3 separate regions of the Homo sapiens genome follow, and all the other regions are linked to region 1. Evidence: promoter capture Hi-C in 16 types of primary human blood cells and fetal thymus (Javierre and others, 2016). All regions are on one chromosome and are shown on one strand. The core of a region is centred on a gene start or on the middle of the fragment in contact, and the rest is flanking DNA. Distances in the headings are between cores, read along the strand shown.

Evidence for each region. The method cuts DNA at HindIII sites, captures the fragments that hold promoters and counts their contacts. A CHiCAGO score of 5 or more calls a contact.
Region 2: a fragment that was not itself captured here is called in contact with the fragment with the promoter of RASAL2-AS1 in region 1 in 1 of 17 cell types (M0 macrophages); the score reaches 7.4 in M0 macrophages.
Region 3: a contact is called between a fragment that was not itself captured here and the fragment with the promoter of RASAL2-AS1 in region 1, in 1 of 17 cell types (monocytes). The highest score is 5.5, in monocytes.

The regions. Positions count from the first base shown.
Region 1 is chr1:178,092,339-178,095,797 of GRCh38, forward strand. It overlaps RASAL2-AS1 (RASAL2 antisense RNA 1), which reads right to left and starts at 1,655. Exons shown (of 2, transcript NR_027982.1): 1 at 1,223-1,655; 2 at 1-1,074. It overlaps RASAL2 (RAS protein activator like 2), which reads left to right and starts at 1,766. Exons shown (of 18, transcript NM_170692.4): 1 at 1,766-2,356. The coding sequence starts at 2,155. RefSeq lists an enhancer at 1,242-1,743 and silencers at 1,365-1,414, 1,465-1,764, 1,835-1,994, 2,145-2,204. The HindIII fragment of the contact is 4,675 bases long and covers 157-3,459 here.
Region 2 is chr1:179,029,036-179,032,494 of GRCh38, forward strand. All of the region lies in intron 1 of FAM20B (FAM20B glycosaminoglycan xylosylkinase), which reads left to right. Among named protein-coding and RNA genes, the nearest start is that of FAM20B, 4.9 kb to the left of the region's middle. RefSeq lists an enhancer at 1-570 and a silencer at 339-633. The HindIII fragment of the contact is 3,274 bases long and covers 309-3,459 here.
Region 3 is chr1:178,725,840-178,729,298 of GRCh38, forward strand. All of the region lies in intron 1 of RALGPS2 (Ral GEF with PH domain and SH3 binding motif 2), which reads left to right. RALGPS2-AS1 (RALGPS2 antisense RNA 1) reads right to left here and starts at 445. Exons shown (of 1, transcript NR_187252.1): 1 at 1-445. RefSeq lists an enhancer at 1-344 and a silencer at 1-214. The HindIII fragment of the contact is 698 bases long and covers 1,194-1,891 here.

The DNA.
Region 1 (3,459 bases), core at 405-2,904:
CACTCAACATCTCTTATCCACTAAAGCACACACTGTTGTTTACACGTGGAAGACTGACTATGCAGCCAGTCTAGTAAGCAAGCAAGCAAGCAAGCAAGCAGGGTCCTAGATATTAAAAATGACCATTCCTGTAAACCATCAAGCCACAAATCAACAAGCTTAATCACAAAAGTTTCTTGAGGGAACAAAGTTGAAGTAATATCCATTGAGTCATTGTGGAACTATCTGTACTTGTGGTTGATTAGCCAGGTAAGCTGGTTTTTCCTCAGTTTCCTCACCTGTTAAACAAGAGGCAGAATGATGTTCTCTCTAAAACACTTCTTGCTTTGAAATACTATTACTCTAAATAAGACTTTGGAGAAACTCACAAAATACATCCTTGTTAACTCTCAATAAGCCCAAACAATATTCCAGGACCCCACAAAACCAGAAAACTAACAGGACCCCTTGTAGACCAGTCTCTTTGTGCAACGTAGGGAGAAAGGGCGGGGGGGACTAAAGAACCTCCCAAAAGGTATTAAAAATAGCAACATGTAATTATGAAAAATCTTGTTCCACATTAGGTAGCCACATTCAAGAAAAACTGTTGGAGATCTACTATGTCCAAGGCACGGTTTAAGTTATTACTGTTCAATTTTGAAATTATTATTGTTAACTTGTCAGTAATTTCTTAAACCTAAACTGGTGAAACTCTCCTTGGGTGGACATAAAAGTAAAGCCATGGCCAAGGAGGGAGACAGTCTACAAATAAACCAAAAATAAAATACAAGTGACATCATTAAAGGAAAAAAGCCAACACACTGCACAAAGATCAAAGACAAAACAGAGAAACATGTTTGGTTAATACTGGGCTTTGAGTATTTCATGTGCCTGAGAGGCCCGTCCGTCCATCCACACCACACTTCTTCACCATGCTGTTGCAAACCAATGACAAGTTCAGCTTCAGCGCGGACAGGGCGCAGGGCGCAGACCCTGTGCATATCCCAGAATCCCGGACCCACTGCCACTCCACTCTGGGAAGGAAGAAGGCGCTCCCCCTTGGGTGACTGTAAGATAAAGCAGCTTCTTCGATCTCTTTGTCCAATAAGAAAGAAACGTTGGCCCATAAAGAAAGAAAGAAACAAATAAATAGGAAAGGTGTGAGAAGGAAGGGAAGCTCCTTTCTTTTCTGTTTAAATTTCCCGCACCCTTTTACCTCCCCGCCTTCTCAAACGGTCTTTACTTTGAGCAGCAGAGACCCGGACCGCTCAATACCCGGCTATCCCTGGGAGGGTACTTGGAAAGTAGGCGGGACAGGCCGGATGAATAATTCGGTGTCCGACTTTTCCTGCCTGCGGCGCAGTCCCTCCCCGGCTTCGTTACTCGAGTGCACACGCGGCCGGGCTCTCGGCCCTCGATTGCTTCAGCCTATCACCCTGGGATGCCGCCTGCCGCTGCCGCCGCCGCCGCCGCCGCCACCGCCACCGCCACCGCCACCGCCACCGCCGTGGCTGCCGGGTTTGTGGGATCCGCCGCGGAGCAGGAGCCAGAGCTGTGGCCGGAGCTGTGGCCTGAGAGTCAGGGGGCGGGCAGGCTCATTCCAGAAGTGGGGGCCGAGGACAGGCGGGCTAGAACCCGGGGCCACCGCCCCCTACCCCTCCTCAGGCTGAGGGAACGGGCACTCGGAGCTTCTGAGGCGGCGGCGGCGGGAGCCGGTCAGAGGGGGCGGCCCCTGGCGGCGACGCCCCCAAGCCCAGCCCTGCCCGGCCCCGCTCCATCCCCAGCCAGAGCCTGGTCTGACCGCGAGAGACGCCGGCGGGGCTGAAGAAGGCGGCTCCGAGGAGGTGGGAGGGCGAGCCTCCCCTCCCGGGTTCTTCTGCGTCCTCTCCCGGGAGGGACCCACACACACCTGAGCCCGGACCCACCCTTGGTCGGGGCCACGCTGGATCCTCCTCCCGGCCTGGGTCCCGCCCGCCGACTGCAGGTGGGCTGCATCGCCCGAGCCTCGGGCAGTGGGCGACGGGGAAGGAGGTGAGAGGTGTCCGCGCCGGCTGCCGCTCGGGTCCCTGCCCTCGCTGCGCGCTCTCCTCCTCCCCTTACCGCAGGCAGGGCGCGGAGCCGCGCGCCAGCCCGCCCCGAAGCCGCCGCCTCGTCCCCCTCCCGCCTCGGGGCACCATGGAGCTCTCTCCGTCGTCCGGAGGAGCCGCGGAGGCGCTGTCCTGGCCGGAGATGTTCCCGGCGCTGGAGTCCGACTCGCCGCTGCCCCCGGAGGACCTGGACGCGGTTGTCCCAGTCAGTGGAGCCGTCGCCGGTGGCATGTTGGATCGGATCCTTCTGGAGTCCGTGTGCCAGCAACAGAGCTGGGTCCGGGTGTACGGTAAGGACCACAGGCCGTCTTAGAGGCTGGTGTTTCCTATTTTTGCTTGGGCTGAAATTCATTCCCTAAGTCACAGGCTCATTCCCAGTCCTCATCCGTGCTAGGTCAGTTTCCCACATCCCTTTTTGTTCTGGGGGTGCATTTCTGACAAGTTTCTTCAGACTATCACTTGGGCAGGGATGTCACTCAGTATGGTCTTTGGACCTCTTCAGACACCTGCAGTAAGTTTAATGCGGGAGTTGGGCTATCCAAGACGTAATTCTTAGGCGATTACTTCAAGGGAACAGCCAGGCAATCAATCTTCAAGAAGGTATGATGGAAAAACTCCATGAAACCAAGTGAATGGATTTTCGTCTCTTTTTATTGTTGAATGAGGCAAGACTGGAAACCAAGATATTATGAAAAAGCAGAGGATAAGCTAATGAATGAAAAAAATGCAAACTATGTATTTGGTGGGAGCAAGACTAATCTATAACCTCTGCCTGAACCTCACTCTCTCTAAAAGCAACCACTTATTCCAACGGGTGTGGATTGTTTCAGATTACACTATTGTTTCTGAATCTCGTTGTAAAGTGACTGGGTTGCCACTCAGCAGGTTAAAAGTGATGAACACACTAAAACTTTCCCTTTCTGCATTCCTGGTAACCACCTCTTTAATTAAAACTGAATGATGAGATTCTATTAGGGTGAGCCTTGTGGCAGCACTAAAACCATGCTGGTTTTGAAAACTCATAGCTTAAGGATTTATAGCCTGGCATTCAGGACTGAGCTGTGGCTTTCCAAAATATTGAAACGGCAAGATGTTTATCGCCTAGCTCACGTGACTGCAGAAGACATTAGTAACGTGGCTGAGTATAAGATGGCAAATTTGAAGCACCTGGGATCAAACACAATGTTAAGATGTTATCCTGCAGTCTTGTGCATCTAAGCCTGTAGTGATCAAGTACCTTATGTTTTTTTCTTTCATCTTTCTGAACAGGGTATATGCTTACTATTCAAGAGTGACCAAGACTTAGGTTTTTTTCTGTGTAGTTCAGTTGATTTGAAGACTTAATGTCCATCGCAAAGATCATAGAACTAGGAGTCCAGAGATCTCAGTTCTT
Region 2 (3,459 bases), core at 696-3,195, 940 kb after region 1:
TGCAGCTTCACAACCTTGCTCCTACAGTCTGTTCTGGCTAGGCTAATTGGGCAGTTGGATTGATAGCCAGTGTTTTTGCATTAATAGAAGAACTTAGAGCTCTTGGCAATGGCCATGTCAATAGCATTGACCTGACTGCCCTTGTCCCTTATTTTGACGGTGGAAGAGGGGAGTTATCCCTTTTTAAGAGTACTTCTCCAGCAGTTCCTTCTTCTACACCTACATATATCTTCCTGTTTTCCTTCAGCTGTCTCTGTAACCCCAAGTACTAATGAATTCTTTAACATAGGCCTGGGCTGCAGAACAGAAGCTTACTTTGCTATTGAAACCAGCTTCTGACTAACTTACAATGTCAGCATGACTGCTCGAGCTGCCTAGAAGAGAAAATAATGCAAAGATCTCACTTCTGATTTGGTCTTTCTTACCAAAAACAAAAGAAGAAATGCCTAGCTTGGGATGTAAAGAATCTACATGACAGATGGGTGCGTCTGTCATCCCAGTGTGAGATAAGAGAAAAATGTAAGCTGATGCAGAAGAGACCTTGAGCTTTGGTGTGTGTTTAAGGTCTGTACTTTCTGGCAAGATAACCCCTTTAGAGAAGAGGGTGCTAACTTGGGCACGTTATAAAGGCAGGTCAAGGAATATGAAATTATGAATGTGTAAAGAGGACAGAACCAAGTACAGAGGGAGGCAGTGAAGTCTATCATTCCATGCTCTCAAATGTTAACTTTCTGCTTTATATACATAGCAATGCCTCATTTACCTAATGTTGGGGAGTAAGGTATTATATGTGAAAATTTTATTTTAGCTATACCTTTTGTGGAAAAATTTTTACAATATATGCTTTGGTTATTATTACTAGCATACTGGCAGTAGTTGAGTGAGGCTATGAGATGATCGAAAAATGTAGTTTGTTGTCCACTGTGCTTTTTGAATTATTGAATCTACTTGAGTCGATTCAGTAGTCAGTCTTTGTCTTCTTTCAGTGGTGGAAAGCTGCTCTTTTGCTGCTGTTAGTATCCTTGCTGCCCTCTTTTAAATTTGCAGCTTCTTATCTGTGGAGTAGGAGCTTCCTGACATTGAATGTAAAACAGCTAAATTGGCTTAGTTATGTTCTACCTGCTCTTCTCCAAGTTTTAGGGTATGAACTTTGTAACCACTTATTTTTGTTGCCCAGGGACGTTTTTGTTTGTTTGTTTCTTATCGTTGGTGTAGATAGTGAACGTGTGCTCTGTATAGGTGCATTTATGTTCCTGTAGTTTTCTGTAAAAAAAAAAACAAAATAATATGGAAGTACTTACTCGTGTGGGTTCTTGTTTCAGAAAGCACTGCCAATAATACTTGAAGATCTGATTTCAGCCCTGTCTTGTATCATCCTTGGGCAGTGTGTTAGACAACCTCCTTTCTTCCTTTTAGCATTTCCAAATTGTCTTTACTCTTAATCCCAGCCGATACTAGGAACCAGGTTGGCAATAGCAGTGGCCTTGAAAGGTGGAAGCAGGATATACAGAAGGTGGCAACTTTAAATTGAGTGTATATAATTGGTATACATATTCGCTATTTCTGCATCTTTTATATACTGTATACTTGAATTCATTGTAGGACTTATTTCCCCCTGTCTCTGAAAGAGGCAGTCTTTAAACCAGAGAGTTGCCAGTTTAGAAGAAATTCTTATAACCCTAAAGGTCTTTCTCCTTTGCCCTTCTCTCCTTTTATTCCACAAACACTTATCAGATGCCTCTTACAGGCCCTGCACAGTGCTAAGTTACTTGGAAGTACAAAGCGTGAGTAAAATCTATCCCATCCTCAAAAAACACAATATATTAGAAGAGACAGATGTGCCAAAAAAAAAAAAAAATGTGTGTGTGTGTGTTTGTGTGTGTGTGAGTTCATAGTATAACAGAGGGATCATGCCTGGAGCCACCTAGCCATAATTTCAGCACAGATCTGTTTGAGGTTCTCCTGCTTCTGAGAGTGATCTCCTGTGTGGGCTGTCAGCTTGACGTACCATAGAACATAAGGCTAAAAATGCGAGGTCTATTGTTGTATAAAGTTTATGTGGTTTTCCAAGAACTGTAGTGAATTGAACACTAAAGATGGAAAGCATATGAAAAGCTGAAGGAAAATGTTATAATATTTGTAATGCCGTATTTCAACACTATACAGGAATTACCTTCTATAATCTAGCCTTAAATGGTGGTTCTGTACTGACAGTTGTGCTGTGAAATACCTGGAACTTGGGAAGTGTCATTATACCTGGCTTATTTAAAGGAAAATGCAAATTGTTACTCATTTCCACGTAGTGTCAAGATTACTGCGTGTGTTGGTTTTTTAGAACAGAACTCGCTAGCAGTATGAGCTAAAGTTTTTTTCTTTTTCATTTTTCAAGGAAGAGGGTTGCCCTAAATCAAGGTTTAAATGGGACAGGTTGCAGAGATTGATTTTTTTTCAGTTCACTTATTGAAATTATTCAGTTATTGCCTATTTCATTTTTACTTTCACATCCAGCAAGAAAGACTACCTTAATGCTTCATTAATGCCTGGTAATGGTTTTAGTTGCCTTCCTTCAGAGGGAACTTGTTAGAGAATTTCATATAAGTGATTCTGAGTTTACAGATGTAAATAAATGTTTAAATGGAAGTGAAAACAGTAAGGAAAACCTGACACTTGGACCAATTTGGATTATGTAAGAATTAGATTTTCTACACCTGTACTCTTAAGTTACTCTTAAGGCTTATCTTAAGGGCTTTAGCACATGAAAAGCTGTCATCTTTAAAACACAGAACTAATTTTCCAAACTGAAAACAGTTGTGAAAGGCATTCTATTTTAGCCTTTTTTTGTGAAGTGGGATAAGTTCATGCTTCCCATCTGTTTCAGTTACATTGAGTGTGGTAGAATTGAACTTTGTAGAGAAGGGAAACAGGTTGGCCAAATTAGTGACAGCCTCCCAGTCTTCTGCTTTGCATGACACTCACTCTGAAGATATCTATTTGCCTAGTCTTATCTACCTCTCAAATTTAGGCAAGAATTTGGCTCAGAAATACAAGACTACTAATTACTACTAAACTCTTAGTAATGCAATGTGTGGATTTGGCCCCTCACTATGTAACTGAGAAGACAACATTATGGTATATTGATTCCAATGAGGGTTTTCTTTGTCATTTTTCTCCTCTCTGGAGGTCATCTGGGTTTTTGATATGGTGATAATGACTAGCAAGTGATTACTGTGGGTCATCCAGGCACTAATCTTAGCACAACACATGTAGAGGTCTCATTCTTTTTTTTTTTTTTTTTTTTTTTTTTGAGACAGGATCTTGCTCTGTCACCCAGGCTGGAATGCAGTGGCATGATCTTGATTCACTGCAGCCTCAGCCTCCCGAGTAGCTGGCTCATTCATTTTTAACAACCCTGTGAGTTAGGTAATAGTATTCTTGTTTCATTTTTTTATATGCAGAAAC
Region 3 (3,459 bases), core at 293-2,792, 630 kb after region 1:
AGGACCAGCAGAAGCCGGGCCACACCCCCTCCCCTGGCCCTGGCGGCTGCGCCCAGAAGCCTGGCCGCAGAGTTGGCCGCCCGCGAACCCGCGGAGTCGCGGTCAGGGTGACCTGTTGCAGAGCGGCCCGCAGCCCGAGCGGCCCCCGCCAGCCCCGGCCCCGGAGGGGCTGCGTCCTGTGCTGGCCTCGGGCCGGGCGCGCGGGCCGGGTGTGGGGCAGGGGCCGCAGCCCCAGGTCGGCTTGCTCTACGGCCTGGAACCGGGCTCTAGAAAAAAAAGGAGATTCCGAACGTATCTCATCAAACACTTGCAAAGCCGGGAGATCTGTCTGCAAATATCCGGAATTCCATTGCAGTATCGGATTAGGTAGGCTCATAAACACCGTGCTTTTGAGGTGATTTGGAAGAAACGCGAGCCACGAGCGAGGAACTAGTTTCTGGAAAATAGCCGTAAACCTGTGCGGAGCGAATTATTAACCCCCCGCCCCAGCTCCCCCCTCGAAGCTCTTTTCCTGTAGCTGTGTGTTGTGTAGACGCAAGCCAGTTTCAGTGTACGTGGGCGTGTTTGGGAAGAAGCTGCGAGCTGATAGGAGGTACCTAGTACAAATGTTAATTTGTTTGAGTTGGGAGGGGTAAGGGAGGAGGAAGAAAGGGCACTGATGTTAGCTGTGGAGGAGGGGCAATTGAAATACTAAATTTCTGTTAAAAAAAAAAAACCCCAAAAGAAATATCTAATGCCTACTGTGTATTTAAGACCATAAAGTGGAATCACACAAGCAGCAGTTAATTGAGCTTTATCGTTTATGCTCCCTGGATTTTTTTTCCCCAACACTTTAGTTGCTATAGAGAGCCTTTTCTTACCAGTGTTCATGAGTTGACTTGGGTATTTTTCTGTGTCCACCATTAGATCGATTCCTGTTCAAGTTTCTTTGAAGATGACCATCAGAATTTTAGGAAACTTTTCAGCCCGTGTTTGCAGAGTATCGCTGTTAGACAGATCATAGCTTGCTCATTATAAAGCCTGTTCCACTCAAGATCATTATGCTTGTACAAGTGCTATAGAACAAGTGCTATAGAATCATACACATAAGTGTATTACTCTTACGGCTAAATATCTTAATTTAGAATTATGAGGAAACTTCCAAAACTGAGCATCCAAACAGTATTATTTTAACAAAGATAACCTCTAACTCAAGCTTTGTAGGCATGAAGTTTATCATGTAGCTTCAAAGGTCTTTTGAGGCAGATCTAAATATCAAAATGTAAGGGCATTAATGCCATTTGGGATAAACAATTTCAGTGTATTTATTTTAAGCGTAGTTCATTTTTTCTTTTTAAAATTCAGCATAATTTTTGAACGGTAAGATGTGCGTTTTTCCCATTATATTCCACTTTTTTTTTTTTCCTTTTAAGATAGGTTCTCCTTATTTGGCTCAGGCTGGTCTCAGACTCCTGAGCTCAAGCGATCCTCCCGTGTCAGGCTCCCAAGAAGCTGGGACTACAGGCATGCGCCACTGTGCGTTATTTCACTTTTCATTGAATTAAGGAATTTGACTTTTAGTAATACTTTGGGGCAGGACTCTGGAAATACTGTTTAGTTTGCCTAAATTTTTTCAGATTGCAACGTAAGTTTGAAGATAATGCTTGCATTGGCAGAACACAACGTGCTTTTCTAATATTTATTAGTAATACTAGAAAGAATACAACAAATTTTCCTGAGAGAAAACATAACTGAAAAACTGGCTTTGTGAGTCAGATACATATGTGAGTAATATATTTTTGTGTGTGTTTTTAAATACCTGGTACGAGTCTTTTTATTACGTCATTAGAGTTCAGTGTAGTGAATGATGGATATATAGGTGAAATTGTCCTGTTGCAACTTAAAACACTTAAGCTTTTTCCAGAGACTCAGTTCATTCTGCACATGTGTATTGGGTACCTACTTGGTGCCAGTTAGTTCCCTAGAGGTTGGGGACACAACAGGGGAGACACAACAGGGCTTATCATTTAAGCCCTGATGGGGCTTAAATGATAAGTGGGCAAATATGTTTGTTTAAAAGTTTAAGAAGTAGAAACTCCTCTGATAACTTTTTGGTTAAGGATATTGTTTTTTTCTTTCTGAGAATTGTGGGAATTATTGCCTAGCGAACAAAAACATTAAGACAATTGTTTTTAGAATATGCCTATGTTTATATACTTTGGGTTTCTGGTTACCAAGTATACCAAAGATAAACATTCTACCTGAAGTCAGATGATGCGTAGTTTACATGTGGTTAGACAGCCTTATTCTTTTGGTTTATGTAGTTAAATGAATGTTTGCTGAAAATATTCTCTCGGCATTTATTTATAAGGGAATCTAAATTTCTTTTTTGGTCTAAAATTTTAAAATATCACCTTTTTATTTCTGGCTGACTGTGAGTGAACCAATTCCTTGATAATCTGCTTTTTCAGAAATTTTTAAATAACTTTTAAACCATAAACCAAACTATTAATTGAAATTTATTGAATCAAATTTGTTTTCTTTTGTGAGTTAAACTTTAAACCCATTTTCTCCGAAAGTATGCTTTTTTTTTTTTTTTTGCTATGTAAAATAGGCACATAGTTTGGGTTTACTTTTAATTTTAATGATACACAGTTTGAGAATAAGATATTGAAGTGTATCCATTTTTTGAATATGAGATATTTATTGTGTAACGACTGTATTTGGAATAAAATTGTCACTTTAATATGAATACTTTTTTTTAAGTTAATTTTCAATGAAAGATAATTCAAATAGCTTGAAACTACCCCAGCCTGAGTGAAGTTCCTTGGAGAGGAAAATGAATGTATTGCATTACCCTGTAAATTGTTTCTTTAAATGTGTCTTAAATTTCCTATTGAATCCTTTTTAGTGAGAGAATAAAGATTGTGATAAATTTTAGTAACGTGGAATTAATCTGGAATCTTTTTTGGTTTAATGTCTTGAGCTTTTGATTTAGGAAAACTTTTAACTACATAATAGAAATAAAACACTGGAATTTAAAATGTGTTACATTTACCTATTCTATGGAAAGAAAAAAGTTTGAATATAAATTTACATAGTCACTTTACTAAGTAGCTAGTTAGGGATATGGGAAGGATCTATATATACATACAGTTATATGGATATAGCAGTGTTCATATGACTTAGCTTGAGGAAGCTTGGCCGTTTATTTCATTACAGAGAAACTTTTGGTACTGGCTTTTGAATAATACATTGCTTTGGAGTGTGAAAGACTTGAATCTCTCATCTTGAATTTAATTGATAGTTTTCTGTTATTTCACTTACATGACCTTTTTTTTCAGAACAGATTTTCTTTAGTTTGATTTCCTTTTGTTGTTCTTGCAGAAGTGTTTTCTGAAAACCTTATTAAATAGCATCCCCCATCATACTCTGTGCCTTTGCCTTGCTTTATTTATTTATTTTTACATCATTGGTTTA